7 separate regions of the Homo sapiens genome follow, and regions 1, 2, 3, 4, 6 and 7 are each linked to region 5. The links are contacts of gene promoters, found by promoter capture Hi-C in human tissues and cell types (Jung and others, 2019). All regions are on one chromosome and are shown on one strand. Each heading gives the region's core, a stretch centred on a gene start or on the middle of the fragment in contact. The rest is flanking DNA. Distances are from core to core; before and after follow the strand shown. Region 1 has its middle 28 kb from the start of SPATA31F1. Region 2 has its middle 62 kb from the start of RUSC2. Region 3 holds the start of ARID3C (AT-rich interaction domain 3C). Region 4 has its middle 54 kb from the start of SPATA31F1. Region 5 holds the start of PIGO (phosphatidylinositol glycan anchor biosynthesis class O). Region 6 has its middle 80 kb from the start of RUSC2. Region 7 has its middle 7.6 kb from the start of CCL19.

Region 1 (3,646 bases), core at 602-3,101, 340 kb before region 5:
GGTCTTGCTCTGTTGCCCAAGCTGGAGTGTGGTAGAGCAATCATAGCTCACTCTAACCTTGAACTCCTGGACTCAAGCAATCTTCCTGCCTCAGCCACCCAATAGCAGCTGGGATTGCAGGTGTGTGCCATTGTGCTCAGCCTGTATAATCTGGATATAAATCACCTGTTAGATGAATAGTTTGTTAATATTTTTACCCATTCTGTTGGTTGTCTATTCACTCTGTTGATTATTTCCTTGCTGTGCAGAAGCTTTTCAGTTTGGTATAATCTCATTTGTTTATTTTTGCTCTTGTTGCCTGTGCTTTTGAGGTCTTATTCATAAAACGTATTACCAGACCAATGTCCTGAAGCATTTCTCTTATGTTTTTTTCTGGTAGTTTTAAAGTTTTTGGTCTTACTCTTCACCCTGTAATTAATTTTGAGTTGATCTCTTTCTCTCTTTCTTTCTCAAAGTTTCGCTCTTGTTGCCCAGGCTGGAGGGCAGTGGCATGATCTCAGCTCACTGCAACCTCTGCCTCCCAGGTTCAAGTGATTCTTGTGCCTCAGCCTCCTGAGTAGCTGGGATGATAGCAGTGCACCACCACGCCTGGCTAATTTTGTATTTTTAGTAGAGATGGGGTTTTGCCATGTTGGTCAGGCTGGTCCCGAACTCCCGACCTCAGGTGATCCAACCACCTTGGCCTCCCGAAGTGCTGGGATTACAGGTGTGAGCCACTGTGCCTGGCCCGATTTTTTTGTATGGTGAGTATTCATTCTTCTGCATATGGATATTCTATTTTGCCACTTAAGAAGAGAGTGTTTTTCCCCCAGAGTATGTTCCTGGTGCTTTTGTTGAAAATCAGTTGGCTGTAAATTCATGGATTTATTTCTTGGTTCTCTAGTCTGTTCCATTGGTCTATGTGTCACCTTTATGGTAGTGCCATGCTGTTTTGCCTACTAGAGCTTTGTAGTATATTTTGAAGTCAAGCAGTGTGATGCCTCCAGCTTTGTTCTTTTTGCTCAGGATTGATTTTGGCTATTCGAGGTCTTCTATGGTTGCATATAAATTTTAAGGGTTTTTTTTCTATTTCTGTGAAGAATGTCATTGGTATTTTCATAGGGATTGCATTGACTCTGTAGATCACTCTGGGTACAATGGTCATTTTAAGAATATTAATTCATCCAGTCTGTGAGCATGGAATGTCTTCTTATTTGCTTTTATCCTCTTCAGATTCCTTCATCAGTGTTTTTCTTTTCTTTTCTTTTCTTTTTTGAGATGGAGTCTTGCTCTGTCACCCAGGCTGCAGTGCAGTGGCGTGACTTGGCTCACTGCAACCTCAACCCCCAGGTTCAAGCAATTCTCCTGCCTCAGCTTCCTGAGTAGCTGGGATTACAGGCACCCGCCACCACACTTAGGCACTTTTTGTATTTTTAGCAGAGACAGCGTTTCACCATGTTGGCCAGGCTGGTCTTGAACTCCTGACCTCATGAGCCACCCACTTCGGTCTCCCAAAGTGCTGGGATTACAGGTGTGAGCCACTGCACCCTGCCCCTCAGTGTTTTTCATAGATTTCTTTGTAGAGATCCTACACTTCTTTGGTTAAATTTATTTCTAGTTTTTTTTTTTTTGTAGCTTTTGTAAATGTGATTGCTTTCCTGATTTCTTTTTCAGCTAGTTTGGTGTTCACATATAGAAATGCTACTGATTTTGTATGTTGATTTTGTATCCTGCAACTTTGCTGAATGTGTTTATCATCTCTAACATTTTTGGCAGGGTATAGTTTGGGGTTTTCTATGTATAATATGTCATGTGCAAACAGGGATAATCTCCTTTGGAGATTTCATATTTCCTTGCTTTTTCATGTTTGATGTGTCCCTATGTTGAGTTCTACGAATCTGGTGGAACAGTCACCTTTTCTCATTTTATGGGTTAGATTTCATAGGGAAAGGCTTATTCATATGGATGGGTCTTGGGGTGTTGGTTTGGTGAAGTGCATTGGCTTTGGTTCTAGGTGGATGCAAAAGTGTAGTCTCTATATAGTTTCGTCAGTTGTAATCCATGCTAGTGATGTTTGCATGTGTCTCAGTGGGCTAGGCTGTAATAGTTTATGGAAGTGGTGGTGCTCCTTTGCTGGGGGTAGACTTGCTGGGCTGTTTCTCAGGTTAGTGGTGCATATATATGCACATGGTGTGTTGGCCAGTTTGGGGTCTGGCTTGCTGGGATTAGGGCCATAGGGCTATTACTCTGGTTAGGAGAACATGTGTGGTTGCTCAGTCTGCCTTGGGGTGTACCTGGCAGGGGTGGTCCATGGGCTATTTCTCAGGACTGGGACATAGCCATATTGTTTCTTAGCTGGTTTTGGTGTATGTCTGCTGAGGGCAGCCCACAGGGCTATTTCTCAGGTCCAAGATGACATCGCAAGTCTGCTTGGCTGGCTTGGGGATATGTTTGCTGAGTCTCCCATGGGGCTATTCATCAGGCCAGGAGCATAGGCACAAGGCTGCTCAGCTGGCCTGGGTGCATCTTTGCCAAGAGTAGCCCTGCAGGGATGTTTCTCAGACCTTGATAGCAGGCATGGAGCCTTGGGCAGGAACAGGGTAACGGACATGGGGCCTGTTTCTCAGGCTCTGGGTGTGGACGTGTAGCTACTCCACCAGCCTGTGGGCATATCAGTTGTTTGGTGGTTTGGGGACAGCTCCTGCTTGGGGCAGGACACACAGTGGCTTGGCTGGCTTAAGGGCGGGTTCACCAGCTTAGGAGTGGGTTTGCCCTAGGTGAACTGGCAGACTGTTCCTCTGGCTGGAAGTATAGGCAGCAGGGATTGCTTTCCCTGCTGTGCAGGACCCAAGTCACAGCTGATCCTGGTCCCAGGTTCCATGCACCTGGGATTGCGGCATTCAGCAACCCTTGTGGGCTTGACATAATGAAGATGGAGCCACAGTGCTGGGGAGGTGCAGTGGCTACTGGCCCCCAGAGCAGGGTACACTTCAGAGGTGGCTTTTGTCTCAAGATGGCATCACGCTGCAGCAGCTTGGCTCACAGGGGATTGGCGGGGGATAGGCAGTACACATCTTGCTCTTCTAATGCAGGGCAATGTAGCTGTGTGAATATTAGGCAGCTCTCTATACTGGGCTCAGGACTTGTGAGGACTGTGGGATTCTCCTGTAGTAAGGACTGTGGGTGTTTGCAGTGGCAGCAGGCACTGGGGAGGATCTTCTGCTTACCTTTTCCCCTCAAAGGGAAGTCCTACCTGATTCTAGGCTAACCCAATCTGGCGAGGGAGGTGGGGCTTCAGAGGCTGGGTGCCTCCTCACTGCTCCCGTCACCACAGGCGCATCTCCACTCCCCCACTGCACTCCACCGCTCTCCCCTCAATACTGCAGTCAAATCTTAGCTGTTTATTCATTGCCTTGTTCCTTTTTGTAGTGGACACAAATGCCAGGTGTTTCTAATCAGCCATCTTGCTGCTGTCACTGAGCTGCCCTGTAAGTATTATTAGGCCTAAAACATGCTGCCTTGATATCTTAGAACCTTAAAGGACTCCAAAGGCCTAACCATGAGTTCACCAGCTCTGCCCAGTTATGTTCACCCCCACTCACTAGTTTCTCTATCAGCTGGACCAGCTGTACCCAATCCATAGAATTGTTCAAACAAGCCAATCACA
Region 2 (3,795 bases), core at 397-2,896, 330 kb after region 5:
ATGAAAAGTGACTTGCCCTAGGTCACTTAACAATTTAGTTGCAGAGTCCAGTCTAGAATAGCTAAAATGTCCTGAGCATTTTTAATTATTAGGAATTGTTTTCAAATATTTTGTGTGCCTTAACTCATTAATCCTCCCAATAACCTTATGAGTAGATATTATTATCATTTCCATCTTACAGAAAAATAAAATGAATCTCAGGTTAAGTTACTTTCCCAAGGCTAAGAAATCTGGCTTTCTAGCCCCCAATTCCTCTTCTCCTCCTGGTGAAAATCCTATTTTCCTTTTTCCTTCTTTCTTTGTGGCAGGTCTGTCATCAAAGAACCAAAACAAGGTGAAGGTTAATCCTGCCCTGACTTTGGAGTCTCAATCTGTCTTTGCCAACTCAGGCTCTGAAGTGGAAGACTAAGATTTGAACCCTGACAGCCTGACTCAATTGTCTGTGTTCTTAACCACTATGGGAGCTTTCTATATTTTTTAACTTTAAGTCTACTGCACATTTTATAACACCAGCTTGCCTCACTTCACCAAGATGTCTGGCCCTTTTAGTTCAGTTATTTCACCATGCGCAGGCCAGCTTTTAGGACAGGTCCTTTGAAACCAGTCTTTGAATAGGCTGTAGATTCAACCCTCAGTTCCTAATGGAGAATGAATTTTCCACAGTCACCAGTGGCTAGAAGTAGGTGTTTGTCCCCTTGAGTTCCATAGCTAGGACTTCTTCAACTAGACTATTTCCTAGACTCTCCTTGTCTCAACTAATTTCCAACCTTCTGTCATTCTAACCTCTCACCCATAATTCACATTTTGTCATTCTCGTTTCAGCCAAACAGGAATAACCTTTGAATTAACAAGTAATGGGGAAAACACTTAGTCACCCAGTCTTCTCTTACAGTATTTACATGCCCCAGGGAATCTTGAATTAATCTTTATTATCCAGTCTGAAAACTTTCTTCCTGCCTTTATGATCTCAAACAAGACTGGTTACTTTCTTTCCTTACAGCCTGCCTTTTTTCTCTCTCAAACATTTAGTTTATTCTCTTAGATGGTTGTGCAAAGTGATGTTTTAACCACTTTTCTCATCATTCCTTCTTTTCCTTCATCGTAGACCTCTTAGGAAATCTGGCTTTCTAGCCCCCAATTCCTCTTCTCCTGGTGAAAATCCTACTTTCCTTTCTCCTTCTTCTTTCTTCATGGCAGGTCTGTCATTAAAGAGCCAGAACAAGGTGAAGGTTAATCCTGCCCCTACTTCGGAGTCTCAATCTGTCTTTAGCAACTCAGGCTCTGAACCTTGAGATCTACTGCTTTACTTTACTCTTCAACTCAAAGAGGGAGATATGTGTTCAGTATTCAGTTGTTGCATAGAGGCTGAACCCCAGGTATCCCTCAGAACTAGTGAGAGAATGGCCTGTTTCACCCAGATAAGTTGCTGGCAGAGGCTGTTAGACCCTTGTTAGGTTAAAAAATAATCAGGGATATTTAGGATTAAATTTAATAAGAAATGTGAAATCCAGTAAGAAAATATTATAACTTTATCAAAAGTTATAAAATAATATTTTTAAACAAATAGAAACGTTTTACTGGTCTGAAGGGATAAATGGCATGGGAGAAACTGATTTTATTCAGTAATCCATTAATATATTGAGTATGAACATAGCCTGTCCAAGGACTGGAGAATCTCAACACTAGTAGAAACACCAGTACTTCTCTGGTACCCTGCCTTAATCAGGTAGCTATCTGTGCCCCTTGAGAAAGTCCCTGCACAAAGGGCCTATGCCATACACCAGCTCTAAATCCTAGATGTGACTAAATTATCTGAGCTATGCATATTCCACTGCTTCAGAGAAGCTAAGCTTCAATGATTAGCAGAAGCCCTTGTATCACACAGTTGTAAATAAGCCACTAACCAGTCAAAATAAAGCTCCACAAAATATATCAATCCCATCTCACATAAGTATAAAACTTCTCCCATGTTTATTCAACTAGTAATCATCCAGTAACCATTCATCCTAATAATCACAAGAATAAAATATAAGAAGGAAGAAATGTACTAGTACAGTAGAACAAACTACAAGCTGCATAGCTGGGTTGTAAGCATAGTCCAGAGAAGACTCATAGCCATTTGCTTATGTATTGCTGGTAAGCTGACTATATAGACATGATCATCATGCACAAAGGAGTGGCGTCCCAGGAGGACACCAACAGCTATCTCTCTGTCTCTCTCACAGGAATATAGCATGTTACCAGATAGGGGGCTAATATTGCAAAAATGTCAACTCTATCCAAATTAGTGTACATAATCTAAATCTGTTTACTCTCAAATCCTTGGGTAAACCTAGCTGAACATCCCAGTTTCATCTTGGTCACAATTTGTACAAATGGTAACCACAAAGAAAAAGCCTCTAGTAGATACAGAAAAGAGAAAGATAGGAATCAAAGCACACCACTACAAAAGTCATCAGATCACAAAGGAAGACAGCAAGAGAGGAACAAAGGAACTACAAAACACTCAGAAAACAACAAAATGGCAATAGTAAATACCTATCTTAAATTACTTTAAATGTAAATAGATTGAATTCTCCCATCAAAAGACTGACTAGAATGGTTGAATGAAAAAACAAAACAAAACAAAAAAATAAGATCTAACAATATGCTACCCACAAGAGAGTCACTTTAACTTTAAGGACATACATAGGCTGAAAGTGAAGGGATGTAAAAAGATACTCCATGCAAATGGTAACCAAAAGAGGGCAAGGGTGGCTATGCTTATGTCAGAAAAATCTGTCATAAAAGACAGAAAGGTCATTATTTAATGATAAAGGGGCCAATTCATAAATAGGATATAACACTAGTGAATATAAATGCATCCAACAACAGAGCACTTAAATGTATAAGGCCAAAGGAAGACAGCAAGAGAGGATCAAACGAACTACAAAACACTCAGAAAACAATTAACAAAATGGCAATGCTAAATACTTACCTATCTATAATTACTTTAAGTGTATAAGGCAAAGATAAACAGAACTGAAGGGAGAAATAGACAGCAGTACAGTAAAGTAGAGAACCTCAATAATCCACTTTCAACAGTAGAATCATTCAGAAAGAGAATCAAGGAAACAGTGGACTTGAATAACACTATGAACAAATGGACCTAACAGATATATACAGAACATTCCATTCCCAAACAGCAGAATATATTGTTCTTTTCAAGTGCACATGGATCTGTTCTCCAGTATAAATCATATTTTGGGCCACAAAACACGTCTTAACAAATGTAAAAAGATTGAAAGTATATTAAGTATCTTTCCTAACTACATGGTATGAAACTAGAATAACAACCAATGGATGAAAAAAAAATCCAAAAGGTGAAATAAAAATACCTTTATACAAGTGGAAACATAACAAAACTTATGGGATGCAGCAAAAGTTGTTCTAAGAGAAAAGTTTATTGCAATAAATGCCTACATTAAGGAAAAAAAAAGAAAGATCTCAATTAAACAACCTACTTTTATACCTTAAGGAACTAGGAAAAGAACAAATTAAGCCCAAAGTTAGCAGAAGGAAGGAGTTAGAGTAAAAATAAATAAAATGGAGAATAGAAAAACAAGAAAAAATAATGAAACTAAGAATTGGTTTATTGAAAAGATAAACACAATTGACAAACCCTTAGGTAAACTTTTATTTTTAAAAGACTCTAAAATCCAAAATGAAAGAGAAAATGTACAACTGATGCCACAAAAATAAAAGGGATCACAAGAGACTATTATAAAGTTATATGCCAACAAATTGAATAACCTA
Region 3 (3,606 bases), core at 325-2,824, 470 kb before region 5:
AAAAAATTAGCCAGGCATCTGTCTTTCCCTCCCTGTCACTATCCTCCAATCTTCTCTCTGTCTTTCTATAGGTCTCCGTGTCTCTGTGTCTCTTTTCATCTTGCAGAGGGTGGTGGGGGTGGGTGGGCTGCTAATCACCTGGCTGTGCTTTTGCCAGAAGAGAGAGATAGGGAAGAGGGCCGGACATTGAGGGCATAGGTCCTACCTGCTTGAATTGTTCCTCGTAGGTCCACTCGTGGGGATGGAGTCCAGGGGGCTGGCTAGAAGGCGAGCTGGGGCCCTGGGCCCCTGGACGGCTCTCCTCAGCTGCCTCCTCCTCTGCCCCGGCTTCCTCCCGCTTCTCCTCATCTTCTTCAGCATCTTCCTCTTCCTCAGCCCCAACATTCCCCAAGGCCCCCTCAGGGGCCTGTAGGGTCCGGTGGTCAGGCAGGGGAGGCTGCGGTGGCAGCAGCGGGCATGCAGGGGCCAATGGCCCCACCCCCTGGGCCAGCCGAGCTGCCTGCTGCTTCTGCAGGGCCTCCATGACAGCTTCCAGGCGCAGTCCCCCAGCTGAGGGGGTCCCTGGTACCAGGCGGGACCCCGAGGAAAGGGCCGCCTGTGGGGGAGGGAATTATGGGTGCTGGGCCCTACTGCCCCCAGAGCCCCCCAACACAGGGGGAGGTGGTCATGGATTCAGGGAAGTGCAGGGGTCACAAGGAAAGAGGCAGAAAGATGGCTTTCCCAGAGGTGAACAGAAACAGGACCAGACCCGGGGAATCAAATGGCCATTGACTGAGGACTGGAAGAGTGAGCAGATCAGAGAGGGTGACGGGGACCAAGAGACATCGGGAAATGGTGAAGGAAGGGAGAGAGAAAGAAAAGGAGAAGGGGGATGTCCGACAGAGACAATGACAGGGAGATGTGAAAATAGAGATGGAACAGGGTGACAAGGAGAGACAGAAGTGGGGTGACACAGAGACTGAGAGGGACCAAGATGGAGAGAGGCAGAGGTATCAGGCAGAGACAGGGTAGACAGACAGAGATGGAGAGAGATAGAATATTGGGTAGAGAGACAGGGAGGGTAAGAGAGGTAGAGGAGCAACAGATAAAAGACCTAAGTGACAGGTAGCTCAGAGACGGACAGAGACGGAGAGACAGAGGCGGAGATAGACAAATAGACAGGGGTTGAGATATAGGGAAAGACCAAGACAGCAGGAAACGGACAGAAGAGAGAGATTAGAAAGAGACAGTTAAATAGAGAGGGACCGACAGAGACAGGGACGGGAAAAACAGCCGGAGAGAGGGGCAGAGGACAGGGACCAAGGAGTCGCGGGGATGGAGGGCGGTGGGGCAGAGCCTGGGACGGGCACGGGACCGGACGGGCAGGAGGCGGCAGAGTCGCGACGCCCGGCTCCCTCGCTCCGGGCGCCCCGCGGCCGCACTCACCTGCCTGGCGTGGCCCGCTGCCCCTGGCGTCTCCACGGCGCTGCCTTTGCTCCGCCCGCCTCCCAGGCGGCCCTGGCCTCGGCTGGGTCCCGGCGGTGCGCTCCCGCCGCCCTGTGCTCCTCTGGCGGCTGTGCGCTCACTCGCCGCGCTGCTTGCGGCGGCCGCGGGGGCGGGACCCGAGCGGGGCAGGGCGGGCGGGGCGCATGGGGAGAGGCCCCTGTGGGATCTGCCGCTCTCAGCTCCCCAACAGGTGTCTCCCACCTTCTTTCCAGCCAGCTTCGGGGGCAGGGGGCGCTGGAAAGCTGCGGGGGAATCGTGCGAAAATGAGGGCTCTACCGCCACCGGACTCCGGACCAGAGCCCCGCCCAGCCTCACAAGTCGTGCCCCCGACACCCACACTCGGCACTGGGCTTCCACATACAAATAGCCGCATCCACACACCAACACACCTTGTCACAAGTTCAGGCGCATAGCTTCCCAGTCTCACACGTTCCGTGACATGGTCACCACAGTGCCAATGGCCTGGGCACGCTGTGATCAAGAGGGGAATCCCTCTGCAAGATGCTGGGGTGTGCGTGGAGGGTCTGGTCAGAATAGAAGCTTCTCCCTTTGCCTTGAGCACCCCTGCCCTGCCTACGTGCTGTCCCCCACTGCGGGCATGCTGCGGTTTGCACACATGAGTGCACATGGTGGTGGACCCACACCTATGCACTCACACACTCTCAGAGGTCTTTAAGCTGACTGCACACTCACCGCATGCAGATACACAGCCACACACAGTTTTTGTCTCTTTTGACATTCTATTATGGAAATTTTCTTTTCTTTTCTTTTTCTTTCTTTTCTTTTTTTTCTTTTTTGGAGACAGAGTCTCTGTCACCCAGGCTGGAGTGCAGTGGCGCGATCTGGGCTCACTGCAGCCTCCGCCTCCCAGGTTCAAGTGATTCTACTGCCTCAGCCTCCCGAATAGCTGGAATTAGCTGGGATTACAGGCGTCCACCACCAGACCCGGCTAATTTTTGTCTTTTTAGTAGAGATGGGGTTTCACCATTTTGGCTAGGCTGGTCTCGAACTCCTGACCTCAAGTGATCCACCCACCCTGGCCACCCACAGTGCTGGGATTACAGGCATGAGCTACCGTACCCAGCCTGTATTATGAAAATTTTGAAACATAGACAAGTGAATAGTATAATGAACCTCTGGTACTCATCATAGGTTTGTTTCAACAGTGACCGGCACTTCGCCCATGTTCACACACATTCTCCACCTATGTGTGCCTGACTGCCACATCTGTATCTCCAGACCCCCTCAGCCCACTGCTTTGCGCCCTCCCCCTAACTATTCCCAAGACGCTGAAATGCTGTTCCTTATTTGGGGGTTCTGAGTGGCAGGCCTCTCAGAATTTCTGCTCTGAACAGCCTGGACCCCACTCCTCCCGGGAATCCTCATACTTCCTATTTCTTCCTGTGCCCAAGGGGACCACTTACCAAACAGAGGGACACTGTGAGGTGATGCCAAGTGTGTAAGTGAACAGCAGGTGTCTGTAGGGGTGACACTTGGCATAGGTATGAAACTGTGGCACCAGAGACTGTCTTCTGACCTCACACCCCCAGAAGGCAGGAATCCAAACACGACCTTTGTCTCCTCCCTCCTCCCTTGTCCTCTCCCAATCAGTCCACTCCTCTCAGCCTCAGCTTGCTCTGGCTCAAACCACCGGCTCTTCTGACCATGGTGGGTCTGACCATGGTGGGTGCCTCCTCCCTGCTCTCCCTGCCTCCAGCCGCCACCCTTCTCTGCACCCTTCTGTGCCCAGCTTCTACTGCAGCACTAAGTCCTGGTTCTCTATGGCCCATTCCTGGCCACGCTGAGGCTCACCCCATTCATTCCTTTGGCTGCCCCAGTGTCCTCCACCTCAGATTTCAGACCTCTGAGCCCATCAGAACCCCCCAGCCTCCAGAAGCTCCAGTGATCCAATCACTGTCGGTACTGATGCCTCCTCCCCCATGGCTTTGTTTGGTGTGAGTATCCTGGGGCAGAGCCAAGCCTCCTCCTCTGCCCAACCCTCCCTGATGCTGGGAGGGGAGAATCAGTGAATGTGCCAGGCAGACAGACATGCCCTGGAAGTCTACTGGAAGACTGGAGAGCAGAGGGTAGCAATCCACAGAACCCTTGTGCCCTGCTTGC
Region 4 (3,879 bases), core at 36-2,535, 310 kb before region 5:
AAGCAGGGTACATGAGCTAGCTCTGGAATGTGAGATTCTTTCCTGAAGAAGGAGGAATGATGAAACTGAGGGAGTAAATGAAGTCCTCCAACTTGCACGAGAGCTGGGTTACAAAACTCACTGAAGTGCTCAGTGGATAATTATTAGTGGAGATCACAGAGGCAGTTAGCAAATCAGTGGATGGTCACATGTCAGAGGCCTGAAAAATGAGAGCAAGACTCAGTGATTTTGGGGTAAGTAGGGTAGAGGAGGGACAGGGGAGGATTTCTCAGCAATTTCGTATAATAATAACCACTCGTGGTTTGTTTTCTGGTAGACACACATCTCTCAACAATTCATTAGTTCACTCCATCCACAGCTCCTCTATTCTCTAGCAGTTTGCCTCCCTCACCCCACCAAATCCCATACCCCGCTTATGAAAAGTTGAGGATTATTTCTTGGACTGATTCAAGGTCACAGAGATATTTGAATGCCATATGGCTAAAAATACAGATCCAATCTGCCTTCCAGTCCAGTGACTCATCCTGTCACTAGAGGTAGAGAGCAAGAGCATGAAGTGGAAGTACTAGACTTCCAACAGCGATATAGACTACTCCAATCCCTGAGGCAGAGGTAAGGGTCTGACTTAGAGAGGCATTTATGAATTCATGGGAAGTAGCTCTTCTTCCATGTTTGGAAGAGCTTCTCAAACATGCCAAGTCTTATGCAAAACAAACTTGAGAAAGCTCCACACCCAACCTACTGTTTGATTGGGAGAGGCCTACATAGCAGTGGTAGGGTTTGGGGATGGGGTAGGATGAGGGATGGATCCCTGCTCCAAACCTATATCTTTAAGCTAGTCTGACTTATCCAAGCACCAGGCATCAGAAAAGCCTCAAATACTTGAACTCCAATCCCAGAAAACATCCATCTAAGCCCTTCCTGATTTAGCTGCAAACTGTGTTCATCTAGGTTGCGTTTTGTTTCTGACCTGTTTCTGACCTATCTCTTTTCTTATTTGTAGCATTGCTCTTGCCTCCAGAATTCCCAATTGATCCTCATTTTTCAGCTTGACTCTCAGCTTTGCTTAAGAATTCTGTTTAAATTCACTTTGGATCTTCCTGCTCCTTGCTGCCCCATCCCAGTTCAGTCCTTAGAACTTAAATCCTGACAGTGATATACTTGGCTGATGCTTCAACCAGGACCACCAGGTTTAGTCATAAGCGTGAAAGGAAGCAAGTTACACTGCGCCATCTTATCCACATGGATTTCATGAAAGGGCCCGATAACTTATTAAAATCCATCCTCTCTTCTCCGGACTCTTAATATTGAGAACTGAAACCATTTACTCCTACACAGCTTACTATCTACGTTAACATGACTTTAATTTCAATTGTCTTCACATCCCAAGACTTTGTGCTCCTGGCTTCAAAACGACCTCTTTTCTTTTTTCACCAATCCTAATATTCTATCATAGCCCTTACCCTATCCTAATTAAGCCCTCTCTATTGCACTCACCCCTGCTCTGACAGACCTGCCTTAAACTAGACTTCAAAATCTGAATAAATCAAATCTTGTTCATTCTCCTCCAAGAAACTACCATATTATGTCTCCCTTATCACTGTAAGAAATAAAATAATCTTTTTCTTATCAATAAGTTGTTCTGGTAATATTTAGGGACTTGGAATTTGATCAGTTTCCTGATATTATTTCCTACAGATTACAGAAAATGTAATACTGCATTGGGAGGGCAGTGACTTAATAACCTCAAGCTTCCCTTATAAAGAATATCAAATAAAGTGAATAGCGGTTTCTGGAATACAACCTGAACTCCAGTTTAACTTTTTAATTGATGTATAATGTTGCCTTTCCTGTTCTAGCCCATTTGTAATTTTTAGGTATCATTAAAACTTTTCTTAGACCAGTAAAACTCTCCATCTACTTGCTGAAATTTCTGCTCTATATTTTTTAGCATAGACTTTGAGATAGTTTTTAAACACTGCCTCCAAGAAGCCAGCAGCTAGTGGGTTTGACAGCTATTTCCTCTGTGCTCGAGTCAGTGCCAGAGTAGCTTCTGTAGGTAATCTCCCTGCATGGCTGGCTGGCAATATCATTTTGATATAAGATATTCTCTAAGGAAGAGTTTCCATAAATAGGCTTGCTGCTAGAGCTGGTGGAGGCGTCTTGCCTAGTAATTAAGTTTTCTTGTACAAGGAGTTATATGGTTTTGTATGTGCACAAGTGAAAGTGCATAAGACATGCGTGGGCAGGTATGCTTTCAACTTGTTAGTGATGTTCTCAACTAGGAGTTCATGCTTCAGGGAGTAGGAAATGATTGCTTATTCTACCATTTCAGAATTTGCATAATATATCTGGGGAAAATATTTTTAAATGTACTATGACCTTTTTATCTTGTAAGGAGTGAAGGAAATCCTTATCCTATTCCAATTTGAATTATGTTCAGCCTCAAACGGTACCATAAGATGGTATGGTAGGTGCAGGGAGACAGCACTGTTAACACATAGTTCACATGCATAGTCTGAAAGTGTCTGTTTTCTGACCTTTAATTTTCCATGACCAGGACAGTATTATACACAGCTATTTCTTAACATAAACTTATCTGACGATTTCCACTGTCCTGCTTTTGTGCTCCAGATCTTTAACAGGTGGCAAAGAAGACAAATATGATGAGACCACATGAATGCTGCCCAACTTTTCAGTGATTATTAAGTGCAAATATCCTCCTTGTAAGACATATGTTTTCTTAGTTTCAAGATAGTGAAAGGACTAAGACCAATTTTGTAGACATACGAGAATACTAGAAATTGAATTACACTAAGGATCATTTATATTGAGTCAACCAGTTTTTTCTAATGTGGTCTTCTGTAAAATTTAGCTAAAATATTTCAGCTGTTTCACAAGTGTTTGGTTTTAATTTAATTTTGAAATGTGTTTTAGCTTTTAAAAATGTGAATACACAGCAGCACACAAACTTAAATGTGTCCTCTACTATCTTAGTCTGCTTGCGTTCCTGTAACAAGATGCCACAGACTGGGTAATTTATAAATAAGAGAGATGTATTTCTTACAGTTCTGAAGGCTGGGAGATCTAAAATCAAGGTGCTGGCAGGTTTGGTGTCTGTTTGGCGGTGTTTGTTGTTTGCTGTTCTTTCTGTATCCAAGATGGCATCTTGCTGTGTGCTCCAGAAGGGACAAATGCTGTGTCCTCACATAGGTGAAGGCAGATGAATAAAAAGAGACAAACTCTCTCTGAAGGCTCTTCTGTAAGGGCATTAATCCGTTCATGAGGGAGAGCCTTCATGACTTAATCACTTCCCAAAGGGTCCGAAACTCTTAATACCACCATAACGGGGATTAAGTTGCAACACATGAATTTTGGAGGGGAACCATTCAAACCATAGCATCTACCAATTTTTTAAAACACATTTTAGACTACCAAAGTATTAATTTTTATACAACTTGGAATAGATGTTCTCCTCTGAAGTCTCTGTGTAACTGAAGAATAACCTAAGAATGCAAGGCTGTAAGGGAATAAGTTTGTGTTTTTCCAAGCCACTAAGTTTGTGGTAATTTGTTTCAATAGGTACAGGAAGTAATACACACCCCCGTATCAAGTATGGAGCTTCTAGGCTTATAGTCTGCCACCAAGTTCTTAGGGTGTCAGGTCACCATCCTCCCTACCTGAAGATTTTTATTGCATCCTTCCACCTTTATACTTTAGCCTTTAATAAAATGTGCTTCCTTTTACTTTGTCTTCCTTTCTGGAGAGGGTTTCCCTTTTATCATGTTTCTTTCTAAAGAGACATTCATCATTCCCATTTCCTGGGACTACATTGGTGGAATGGCTGCAGGGGAACATAATTAGATATTGGAAACATAA
Region 5 (3,960 bases), core at 1-2,500:
TATCAGCACCAACACAACCCGCGAAAATCGGGAAGCCATCCAGCAGGCCCCAGGTTTCCCTTGGCTCCCCCATGGCAGGGACCCAGGGCCTGGGGGCTCTTGGCAGCTGCTATGGTTGGTGAGCTCCAAACGGGTGAGCAGGAAGCCACTGGTGAAGAGGGCAATGCCAGCGTAGAAGAGGAAGCAGACCCAGGCCAGGAAGAGCAACACTGAGGCTTTCTGCATCCTGATAGGGGTGGGGAAGTAAATTCATTACTGTGGGGCAAAGAACCAGTGGATATTCTGGTCCCTGAATACAAGCCCAGCTAGAATCACTTCCTCCCGGAAACCTTCCTGGAGATAAACCATTTCACAGCCAACCCCTCGCAATATTACTCTCCTCCTATTTCCAGGCTGGGCATGGTGGCTCACGCCTGTAATCCCAGCACTTTGGGAGGCCGAGGCGGGCGGATCACCTGAGGTGAGGAGTTCGAGACCAGCCTGGCCAAAATGGCGAAACCCCGTCCCTACTAAAAATACAAAAATGGGTGGCGGGCACCTGTAGTCTCAGCTACTGGGGAGGCTGACGCAGGAGAATCGCTTGAATCGGGGAGGCGGAGGTTGCAGTGAGCCGAGATTGAACCACTGCACTAGAGTCTGGACAACAGAGGGAGACGCCGTTTCATGAGGTCCCACCCCAGATCTACTGAATCAGGATCTTCGAGGGGTAGAGCATAGGAACGTTCACATGTACAGGCAGGAAATGCTAATGCTGCCTGTACATGTGAACAGTCAGGAGGGAAACTTATTCCAATTGGTAGTCAGGCTCTCTTACACGCCGTTTCTGCGCCTCTCCCCTCGCCAATCTCAATACCCAGTGGAAAGGGATCGAAGCCGCAGGGGAATCCGGGCCCAGCCGACGGCGCCGCCTGGCGGGCACCGAGGGGACGAAGGGGAGGAGTCACTCTCCGCTTCCGGGCGGCCAGGTTCGCCAGGAGACCTGAGGCACGACCTTCGCCACGCAAGGAGGCTGGGGCCCGGGTCGAGAGTCGACTGGGCCTCCGCTGGGACCCAGGCGTGCGACCGGCTCTGCCTCCTCCGGTAACTACCCAGCCTCCCGCTGGGCACCCTAGCCGCGGTACTGAGCACCTTGGTTAGGAGCTGAGGGGAAGAGGGAGACTCCCTTACTTCAGGGTGAGGGGAATACCGGGGGGTGAGGTTCTCGGGAGACCCTGGCTCACCTGCAATGGCACCCGGAAGTGCGGCGGCGGCGGCGCCTGCGACCTGGCAGCACAGAGATGCGTGCGCCAGACAGAGTGGCCCGTCGGTGGCTCCATCGCCATCTGCCGGCACCTCGGTGGAAGTTTGGCCAGGAGCGTGGGGCTGGCCCCAGTTTGATGGGATATTTAGTAATTGAAAATTGGGGACAGGGGACCAAGCTGGAGGAAGAGTTCAGGGAACCACTGTCCATTCATGGTTACGACTAAGAGCACGGCTGCTGGAGTCAAACTTGACTTGAATCCTAGCTTGGCCGCACATATTGTCATCATTAGGCATTACCTCATCTGTAAAATGGAGATAATACTTATTTTCCCTTTTTTGCTTAGCTGAGTCCAACTGAGATTTCATTACTCCTCCTTTCAAAGCCTGTAACTAAATCTTACGACTGAATAATTAAGCAAATAATCCTTCGGAGTGGAGGAGGGGAGGCTGGGCCCAGTGGTTCACACCTGTAATCCCAGCACTTTGGGAGGTCAAGGCAGGTGGATCACCTAAGGTCAGGAGTTCAAGACCAGCCCGGCCAATATGACGAAACGCCGTCTCTACTGAAAATACAAAAGTTACCCGGGAGTGGTGGCGGGCGCCTGTGATCCCAGATACCTGGGAGGCTGAGGCAGGAGAATCACTCGAACCCAGGAGGCAGAGGTTGCAGTGAGCCGAGATTGCACCACTGCACTCCAGCCTGGGCAACAGAGCAAGACTCCCTCTCAAAAAAAAAAAAAAAAATGCCAGGCACGATGACTCACACCTGTAAGCCCAGCACTTTGGGAGGCTGAGGCTGGAGAATCAGTTGAAGTCAGGAATTGGAGACCAGCCTGGCCAACATGCTGAAACCCCAACTCTACTAAAAATTACAAAATTTAGCCAGGCGTGGCGATGTGTACCTGTAGTCCCAGCTACTGAGGAGGCTGAGACTGGACAATTGCTTGAAGCCAGGAGGCAGAGGCTACAGTGAGCTGAGATCGTGCTACTGCACTCCAGCCTAGGCAACAGAGCAAGACTCTGTCTCAAAAAGAAACAAAACCCGTCCACTGGTTTCTCATCTCAGAGTAAAAGTTCTTGCATTGGCTCTACATGGCCCTGCACACTATCTGCCTCTTCCCCTTCTGATTCATCTAGCTGCCACTTCTTTGCTTCCCTAACTCTGTTCCATCCACAGCAGTTCTGCCTCAGGACCTTTGCATTTGCCATCTCCTCTGTCAGCTTCAGTTCCCGATGCCGAAATGGATCTCCATCACCTTCATATTGAAGCTCAACTGTAACATCAGCAAGGCTTCCTGCAATCCCCTACTTTACTAGTTCAGCACCTCCCACCACCACACCCCCTGGAAAAATTTCCCCTCACTTCCTTAATTTCTTCCATAGCACAACTCATCAGCATCTGAAATTCTACACGTATTTATGGTTTATCCCCTCCGAGTAGAATGTGAGCTCATTGAGGTCAGGGAATTCTGTTTTCTTCATGATATCCTCAGCACCTAGCATATATTTGAGGTTCACATACTGACCAAACGAATAAAGGAATATGTTAATTTTTAAAAAAAGTTGAGTTATTCTTCCACCTTCATCCCCATAGCCCCTTATCTCAGTTCAGACCTCATCCCTTCTCCAGGATCACTGAGGCAGCCTTCTCACTGTCCTCCCAGCCTCCTGTGTCTCCCTACTATCCCTTCTCCACATTGCAGCAAGACAGCTCTAACTAAAACATTAATGTGATTACTGTTATTTTTTTCTTTTTTGTAGAGATAGGGTCTTACCATGTTGCCCAGGCTGGTCAACTCCTGGGCTCAAGTGATCCTCCCACCTCAGCCTCCCAAAGTGCTGGGATCACAGGTATGAGTCACTGTGCCTGGCCAATGTGATGTTTTATCTTAAAATTCTTCATGGGAAGGGAAAAAAACCCTTCATAGGCCGGGCACAGTGGCTCACGCCTGTAATCCCAGCACTTTGGGAGGCTCAGGCGGGCAGATCACGAGGTCTGGAGTTCGAGATCAGCCTGACCAACATGGTGAAACCCTGTCTCTACAAAAAACAAAAAAATTAGCCAGGTATGGTGGCGCATGCCTGTAATCCCAGCTACTAAGGAGGCTGAGGCAGGAGAATTGCTTGAACCCGGGAGGCGGAGGTTGCAGTGAGCCGAGATCATGCCATTGCACTCCAGCCTGGACAACAGAGGGAGACGCTGTCTCAAACAAACAAACAAAAAAACCCTATTACCCTAGGGATAATGTCCAACCCCTTCAACAAGAATCTCATTCCTTGTGACTTGGCCCTTGCCATGTAGTCACATCCCCCTTAACACTATACCCTTCAGCCAACTTCTCTCAAGCAGTGAGCCTTTGTTTATTCTAGTCCAGGACCTGACTTGGTGAAAACTTGCTAACTTTTCCAGCCTGAGTTCAGTGGCAATCAGCAACGCTGCTACTCATAAGCTGATATGCTCTTCCCACCAAGATCCCTCAGCCAGAACTTTCCTCTACCACAGCATTTATCACTTTTTTTTTTTTTTTTAACAGAGTGTCTCACTGTTGCCAGGCTGGAGTGCAATGGCGTGATCACGGCTCACTGCAGCCTCCACCTCCCAGGTTCATGCAATTCTCCTGCCTCAGCCTCCCAAGCAACTGGGACTACCCGCACATGCTACCACGCCCAGCTAGTTTTTGTATTTTTAGTAGACGGGGTTTCACCATATTGGCCAGG
Region 6 (3,781 bases), core at 238-2,737, 310 kb after region 5:
AGTTATAAAATAGTCCAGTCAATAGAAAACTAATCAAAGATATAAACACAAAACTGTACTAAAAGATCATCCAATAATTTATTTCACCTGTTTCTAGGTTTCAGATGACTTTTCTGACAATTGTAGTCATCAACTTCAACTTAGTTGTCAGGAAATGAAATCTGTTTCCCAAGCTTTGAAACTATAACTTTATGATGAAGATAAATAAAGTGAATTCCAAACTACCATATGTGTCTTAGAGATAGATCATTTTGGACTTCAGGGATCAAGTTCCAAGTTTCTTAAGAATGTGTTTGAATGACACAGTATCAGCATGAGAAATTCTCATATTCTGAATCTTTATTTCCTTTATAGAAATTCCATGGAATTATAGTTGGTCTACTCTGCAATGTCTCTATTTAAAAGCCCAAGTGAGGACAGACAAGATGAACGTAGGTAAACTCAGGAAAATGTATCTGAGTATGTCATTATTATTACCTCTGAAGTGTGTGTGTGTGTGTGTGTGTGTGTGTGTGTATACATGCACATATGGCAGATCAACCTGGCAATCAGATTGTTAACCTACCAAACAACTGATCAGGAAAGGAAATATATTTTTCAAAAGTAAATACTTTGTACTTAGAAGTACAAGCTCCACTGTTTTATCATCTGAAAATCCTAATTTGAGTACTCTCTTAACTTTTATATTTGGAAATTCACCAGTAAAGCTTGTGTACCTTTCCTTCTCTCCCCATTCTTCATAACTGCCTCCTGCTAAAAAGAGGTGATCAGTGTGAAAAAAGGCTGCTGAGGCAGATAAGGTCCTCCTTTGCAGCCTTTTTGTGGACAGAACAAATGGATCTGTCTCTGTAGTAAGGGAGGATTTCCATACCATTTCTGTGCTTTCCTTTGGTGAATCAAGATTCTAAAGGGAGGCCGGGCGTGGTGGCTCACACCTGTAATCCCAGCACTGTGAGAGTCCAAGGCCGGCAGATCACTTGAGGCCAGGAGTTCAAGACTAGCTTGGCCAACATGGCAAAACCTGTCTCTACTAAAAATAAAATAAATAAATAAATAAATAAATAAATAAATAAATAAATAAATTAGCCAGGCATGGTGACACATGCCTATAGTCCCAGCTACTTGGGAGGTTGAGGGACAAGAATCGCGTGAGCCTGGGAGGTGGTGGTTGCAGTGAGCCAAGATTGTGCTATTGCAGTCCAACCTGGGTGACAGAGGGAAACTCTATCTTAAAAAAAAAAAAAATCCTAAAGGGAGCAGGAATAATCACACTCCAGCCATCTTTCAGAATGGAACTGCCTGTTATGTAAGAACAACAACAACAAATTATTTCTAATGTGAAATTTTGAAAAAGGAAGATTTAGATTTAGGCTTCCTTTTGAGGAATGGAGAAAGTGCAGAATGAAATCAGTTCACTGATTGAAGGTCACAGTGTACTTTCTTTCTTTTTTTTTTTTTTTAGTAACACGGAGTCTCGCTCCGTTGCCCAGGCTGGAGTGCAGTGGCGCGATCTGGGCTCACTGCAAGCTCCGCTTCGCAGGTTCACGCCATTCTCCTGCCTCAGCCTCCCAAGTAGCTGGGACTACAGGTGCCCGCCACCACACCTGGCTAATTTTTTGTATTTTTTTTTAGTAGAGACGGGGTTCCACTGCGTTAGCCAGTATGTTCTCCAGCTGACCTCGTGATCCACCCGCCTTGGCCTCCCAAAGTGCTGGGATTATAGGCGAGTATACTTTCTTTACTTGCTGTCATTGGGCAGTTGTCCGATTTCATCCTGGAGGAAGCCCATGTCAAGGACACTGGCCCTGGTTCCAGAAGTAGAAAGTCAGGAAACTTCCATCCAAAGGAAAACCAGGGAGTCCTCTGCTACCCTCAGGAGAGCTAAAGGGCTAAAGGACCCAGAAGATAATCAACTGCTCTGCATATTCTTATGAACAGAAAATATGGAGAGCCAGAATACTTTAGGGTGTGGTAAGTTCCAGGCAAATGAAAAATGTAATAATCATCAATAAAGACTGATCAATTCATTCGACAAATATTTATTGATTATTAAATAAGTGCGAGCCACTGTGCTAGGTATGGCAATACAATGGCAACAAAACTAGACAGAATTTCTGCTCTTAGCGAGATTATGGTTTAGCGAGGGGAAACATTAATTAACAGCATATTTAATAGCACCAATAAATATAAAATATCTGCCATAAATGCAGTGAAATAAATACCATATGGGAAGTATAGTAGTCAAGAGCATGAATTCTGGAGTCATACCGTCTAGGTTTGAATCCTAGCTCCACCACTTACCACGTTATCTTGGGCAAATCTCTTAATTTCTCTGCTACAGTTCCTCCTCTGTAAAATGGGGATAATAATAAAAGTGCTGCCACATAAGGTTGCTGTAAGGATTAAATTAGGTAATATTTATAAAGCATTTAGGACAGTATCTGCCACATGATAAACACTGGTAAATGTGTAAAAAATAATCAAAATAATCTATAAGAGCTTGACACTTTCAATCAGAAAGATAATTAAGAACTTCATCTATAAATGTGTGTTATTTCAAAAGCCAAACCTTTTACCAAGGAAAAAGAGTTGAAACCAGTTTTCCTGGTAAATCCCTACAGGTAGGCTAGGACTACCTATTGCAGGTAGATTTACTGCTTCTGCTATTTTGAGCAGTAAGCAATTAATACTGGTTTACCCAAGATTTTGGCCTATTCCACTGAATTTACAAAACGACAGTGCTAAACCCAATCATTTGGCAGGTAACACTATTTTGAATATTCAGAATCTTCAGGCCTATTCTGGTTGGAAAATCTACAGTACATAAATACTGGCCAGTTCTAACATCTTGGTTGTCTACCCTCTCCTTTCTATTTTCTTTTCTTTTTCTTTCTTTCTTTTTTTTTTTTTTTTGACAGAGTCTTGCTCTGTTGCCCAGGCTGGAGTGCAGTGGCACGATCTCAGCTCACAGCAACCTCCACCTCCTGGTTCAAGTGATTCTCATGCCTCAGCCTCCCAAGAAGCTGGGATTACAGGCATGCACCACCATGCCCAGCTAATTTTCGTATTTTTAGTAGAGACGGGGTTTCGCCATATTGGCCAGGCCGGTCTTGAACTCCTGACCTCAAATGGTCCACTCGCCTTGGCCTCCCAAAGTTCTGGGATTACAAGCGTGAGCCACCATGCCGGGCCTCTCCTTTCTATTTTCTACCACTTCTTAGTTCAGCCTTTCATCATTTTAAGTGTTGACTATTATAGCCGTCTTTTAAGTGGTCTTTCTGTCTGCACTCCGTTCCCCTGTAAATCTATCATATTAATGTTTCTGAACTTCCAGTTTATCACATTTTCCCCTACTCAAAATCTTTGTAGGATTCTCTGAGATAAAGTTTAATATCATTATCCTAATATTAAAGTCCTGACTTGAAGTTCTTGTTTTCTGCCTCCTTCAGATTTTCGTACTTACTGTACTATCATACAACTTGTCTAGTCTCAATGCCAACCCTTTCATTAAGTCCTTTTTCCTGCCTACAGAACTGTCCCCTGCATCTCTACCTAATTAACCTGTGTTCGTCTCTTGAGTTTAGTGCAAGTCCTTCTCCATGAAGCTCTTTCCAACAATTCTGCCCTGCCCCCCTTTATCTCTCCTTCTTGAATTCCTGTAGTGCTTGGGTTCTACAGTGTTTGTTTGTTTGAGACAGAGTTTCACTCTGTTGCCCAGGCTGGAGTGAAGTGGTGTGACCTTGGCTCATTGCAACTTGAGGCTCATTGGTTGAGCCTCCTG
Region 7 (3,663 bases), core at 626-3,125, 410 kb before region 5:
TCTCTTTGTCTCTCTCTGTCACATAGTAAGAAGGTGGCTGGCTGGTTGCAAGCCACAAAAAAAGCCCTCACCAGAAAGTGACTATCTTGGCACTTTTTTTTTGAGGCAGGGTCTTGCTGTTGCCCAGGATGGAGTGCAGTGTCATGGTCACGGCTCACTGCAGTCTCAACCTCCCAGGCTCGAGAGTTCCTCCCAGCTCAGCTTCCCAAGTAACTGGGACTACAGGCACCTGCCACCACACCCGGCTAATTATTTCTATTTTTTTTTTTTTTTTTTTTTTTGTGGAGACATTGCCCAGACTGGTCTCAAATTCCTGGGCTGAAATGATCCTCCTGCTTTGGCCTCCCAAAGTGCAGGGATTACAGTCATGAACCACTGAGCCTGGCCCATCTTGGCACTTTTGATCGTGGACTTCTAACCTTCAGAACTGTGAGAAAATAAATTTCTGTTGTTTAAGCTACACAGTCTATGGAATTTTGTTATGACTACCTGAACAGACTAAGATGGATGTGGTAATTTCTAAGGCTCTGAGTTGTCTGTCTTTCGGGGGGGTGAATTTTTTTTGGCTGTATAAACAAAGGTGATATTATGTTAGGTGATACGCTCAATTTTCTAAGAAGTCTAGGGTTTGGGAAGAAGGATGTATGTTGATCTTGGATAGCCATAGTGTGGACTATAGAGATATTTATTATTATTATTTTCATTGCCCACAAAGTTAGCCCCTTTCTGTGTTTGAGAAACTTCCTATTATATTACTCTTGGTTACTGGTAGACTTTGCTTTCCATCATAGAATCCCCAAAAGTCACATACTAATTTTCCCAGCCCCCTCTGCACTAGGACTTGGACACATGACCTAGGCTTTGCTAATCATAGGACTGTGAATAGGAAACTAGTAGTGATGTGAAGGAGTGGGGTTATTAGAGAATCCATTTTTGGTGGTGGTAGCCGTGGTGGTGAAAGTGATGTCTATTTTACAGGGGCAGCTGTAGCTATGATTCCAGAGGTGGCATCTGGCAGGCTGACCACCTAACACTGGTGAGGCTTGGGGCAATAGTACAAATGGAGGCCCACTATCTAAATATTTAAAAGGTAAAAATCAAGCGAACAAGTTGTCAAATAAAAAATGTGTCTGTCTTCCTTACCTTGAAAAATATACTTTCTTTCTTTCTCTCTTTTTTTTTTTTTGAGACAGAGTTTTGCTCTGTTGCCCAGGCTGGAGTGCAATGGCACAATCTCAGCTCACTGCAACCTTTGCCTCCTGGGTTCAAGAGATTCTCCTGCCTCAGCCTCCCAAGTAGCTGGGATTACAGGCATGCGCCACCATACCTGGCTAATTTTTGTATTTTTAGTAGAGAAAGGGTTTTGCCATGTTGGCCAAGCTGGTCTCGAACTCCTGACCTCAGGTGATCCACCCGCCTTGGCCTCCCAAAGTGCTGGGATTAAAGGCGTGAGCCACCATGCCCGGCCAAAATATATACTTTCAAAACAACTTGGAGGCTAGGTTCAAGTTGAGAATTCTTGAACTCCTTGGAGATCCATGATGGAATGAGGTGGTAAGGGGAGAGCCCATCACCAGCCCTCCACTTGTCCCTCTCCTCTTCCTATCCACAGTTCTATCCTGCACCATGAAGGGTCTCACGTGTCTGGGTGTAAACACTCCAGCCCCATACATACAAGCTCCTTCTACATTCCCTGCAAATAGCTACTTCTTGGCTACCCTCTGGACCTGGTAGTGTGTATATCAGTAACATAGTCTATCCTAGGAAGAACAAATCTGAGGAAGAGGCCCATAATGATATTGGAAGCTACTTGGGGGCATTTGGGCAGGAAATTCTCTGTTTTTCAATTCCTGAAATATGGTCTAGAAGAAAAGAATGAGTTCTGGGTGGGTGCTCCCTTCGTCCTGTGGACTTTTTTTTCCTGTGTCCAGAGATATGATTAGAGGAGGGCCAGATCAGGGTCATCTAAAACATGGGATGCAGGGCAAGGGCCCCAGTTGTCTGGACATAAGCATTGTCCTGGCCACTTGGCATCGCCTTTTGGTGGTGCCACCATGCTGTCTTGGAGGCCTATCTGGACCATCTGTACTGTACCGTATGCTCTGGGAGTGGTTCTGGCTGCCTAGGCTCACTTATTCTCGCTATTTTCTGCATCTTCCCAGGGTCTTTTTAATAAACTCCTTTTCTGTTGGAATCAGCCAGTGAGTTTCAGTGGCTTGCAAGTAAGAATCCTGATCCACACTTTTGTTTATTTGCCTTTTGTTTTTGGAGGAGAGGGGGAAGCTTCATGAAGACCAAGACCATATCTATCTTGTTCACTATCGTATCACCAGCACCTAGAATAGTGCCTGGAATGAATAAGTGTTCTGGGTTGCAGACAGTGATGAGGCATCACTTTAGACGTGAGGGGTTTTCCCAGGGCTGGAAACCTATGTGATGGCAGCGCTGAGACTACTGGGGGCCTTACACTAACATTCAGAGTGATACTCTGGCACTCAGTGCTGCCATACCAGGAGCCATTTACGTAGACTACAGAGAGGATGGTGCCCCCTGGAGTTGTGCAGTGCTGCTGTCCTGCCTCACAGGTTTAAGTGTTCCTGACAGTGGTAGGGTTTCCTGAGAGGAATGGTGGCTTGATAGTAATGGGGGGACCTTGACATTAATGGGTGTCCTGTCAGCAATGAGGACATAATAGGCATTGGGACATCCTATCAGGAATGGGGGTTCCTCAACTGATGAGCACTTTGCAGTGTTGAGGCCCTGACAGAAGGGCTGGCTTCCTCTTGGGAGAGGACCCTTGAAATGATGGTTTGGCAGGAATGAGGTCGACGTGGTGATTGGGGTTTGGATTGTGTTAGGCTCAGATTTCCAGGGACTGGGATTCTGAGATCAAAAGCCCTAGGAGATCTGGTTGTCCCAGAATGGTAGTGTTCCTGTGGCTGGGGTGAAAGCTTTCCCACCTCTGCCAGGTTGGAGCCGAGGGTGGCTCACATCTTCTGCATCCCCCTGGAGCCACGGGGAAGACCCAAAGGCCCTAGAAGTAGGGTGGGGAGGCCTGATTCCCTCATCTACCCTGATCCTTAGAGGTTCTGTCCTTGCTGTTTTCCTCCAACCCTGCCCTGCCTGCCCCTGGCCCCTTGGGAGATGGAAGTGTCCCTCAGAAATGGGCCTTTTGAGAGTTGATGCTGCCTTGCTGCCCTCAGATGCTTTGCTCTTCAGAGGTCCTCTGCCACCTGCCGATCAGACGCCTGGCCCCACTCCTTTCCAGGAGCCCTGCCTGTCACAAGGTTCCTTGTCCTGCCTCTACCCCTACCCTCCAGATCCCCAGCACTCTTCCTACATTCCTCATTTCCTTTCAATATCACCAGGTCCTGGCATCTGATACTCCCCTGGGAATAGGAGTAGGGTGGGCATTGCTGTAGCCCAATCCCCTTCTCTACTCCTCTGTTGTTGGGAAAACTGAGGCCTGAGTAAACTCCCTCTTTGAGGCTCTGGGGAAGCTGATGCTCCTTCTACTGCAGAGGCCCAGGAAGCTGGAAGCCCTCTAGGGTGTGTCTTTGTGTCTGGGTTCAAGTGTTAGGACCCCACCTTTGGCCACCAGCTTCCTCTCTTGTTTTTTCCCCAGCTCTTTCTAGCAAGCTGAGCTTTTCTACCCCAACTAGA

What was found. Contacts are between HindIII fragments. The study calls those that stand out against the background at their distance.
Region 1: a fragment that was not itself captured here is called in contact with the fragment with the promoter of PIGO in region 5 in 1 of the 25 tissues and cell types used here (hippocampus).
Region 2: a fragment that was not itself captured here is called in contact with the fragment with the promoter of PIGO in region 5 in 1 of the 25 tissues and cell types used here (bladder).
Region 3: a contact is called between the fragment with the promoter of ARID3C here and the fragment with the promoter of PIGO in region 5, in 1 of the 25 tissues and cell types used here (IMR-90 fibroblasts).
Region 4: a fragment that was not itself captured here is called in contact with the fragment with the promoter of PIGO in region 5 in 1 of the 25 tissues and cell types used here (thymus).
Region 6: a fragment that was not itself captured here is called in contact with the fragment with the promoter of PIGO in region 5 in 1 of the 25 tissues and cell types used here (thymus).
Region 7: a contact is called between a fragment that was not itself captured here and the fragment with the promoter of PIGO in region 5, in 1 of the 25 tissues and cell types used here (spleen).

The regions. Positions count from the first base shown.
Region 1 is chr9:34,755,671-34,759,316 of GRCh38, forward strand. It overlaps a transcript of PHF24 not described here. Among named protein-coding and RNA genes, the nearest start is that of SPATA31F1, 28 kb to the left of the region's middle. The HindIII fragment of the contact is 4,947 bases long and covers 1-3,646 here.
Region 2 is chr9:35,425,969-35,429,763 of GRCh38, forward strand. It overlaps the pseudogene ATP8B5P. Among named protein-coding and RNA genes, the nearest start is that of RUSC2, 62 kb to the right of the region's middle. The HindIII fragment of the contact is 5,245 bases long and covers 1-3,795 here.
Region 3 is chr9:34,627,492-34,631,097 of GRCh38, forward strand. ARID3C (AT-rich interaction domain 3C) reads right to left here and starts at 1,575. Exons shown (of 8, transcript NM_001017363.4): 1 at 1,426-1,575; 2 at 206-595. The coding sequence starts at 523. RefSeq lists silencers at 1,384-1,483, 1,534-1,693. The HindIII fragment of the contact is 10,650 bases long and covers 1-3,606 here.
Region 4 is chr9:34,782,032-34,785,910 of GRCh38, forward strand. It overlaps a transcript of PHF24 not described here. Among named protein-coding and RNA genes, the nearest start is that of SPATA31F1, 54 kb to the left of the region's middle. The HindIII fragment of the contact is 3,511 bases long and covers 1-3,041 here.
Region 5 is chr9:35,095,341-35,099,300 of GRCh38, forward strand. PIGO (phosphatidylinositol glycan anchor biosynthesis class O) reads right to left here and starts at 1,251. Exons shown (of 11, transcript NM_032634.4): 1 at 815-1,251; 2 at 1-226. The coding sequence starts at 225. PIGO-AS1 (PIGO antisense RNA 1) reads left to right here and starts at 964. Exons shown (of 2, transcript NR_186491.1): 1 at 964-1,080; 2 at 2,420-2,804. RefSeq lists an enhancer at 918-1,257. The HindIII fragment of the contact is 8,015 bases long and covers 1-2,976 here.
Region 6 is chr9:35,408,573-35,412,353 of GRCh38, forward strand. It overlaps the pseudogene ATP8B5P. Among named protein-coding and RNA genes, the nearest start is that of RUSC2, 80 kb to the right of the region's middle. The HindIII fragment of the contact is 4,062 bases long and covers 1-3,518 here.
Region 7 is chr9:34,681,893-34,685,555 of GRCh38, forward strand. It overlaps a transcript of PHF24 not described here. Among named protein-coding and RNA genes, the nearest start is that of CCL19, 7.6 kb to the right of the region's middle. The HindIII fragment of the contact is 6,606 bases long and covers 1-3,663 here.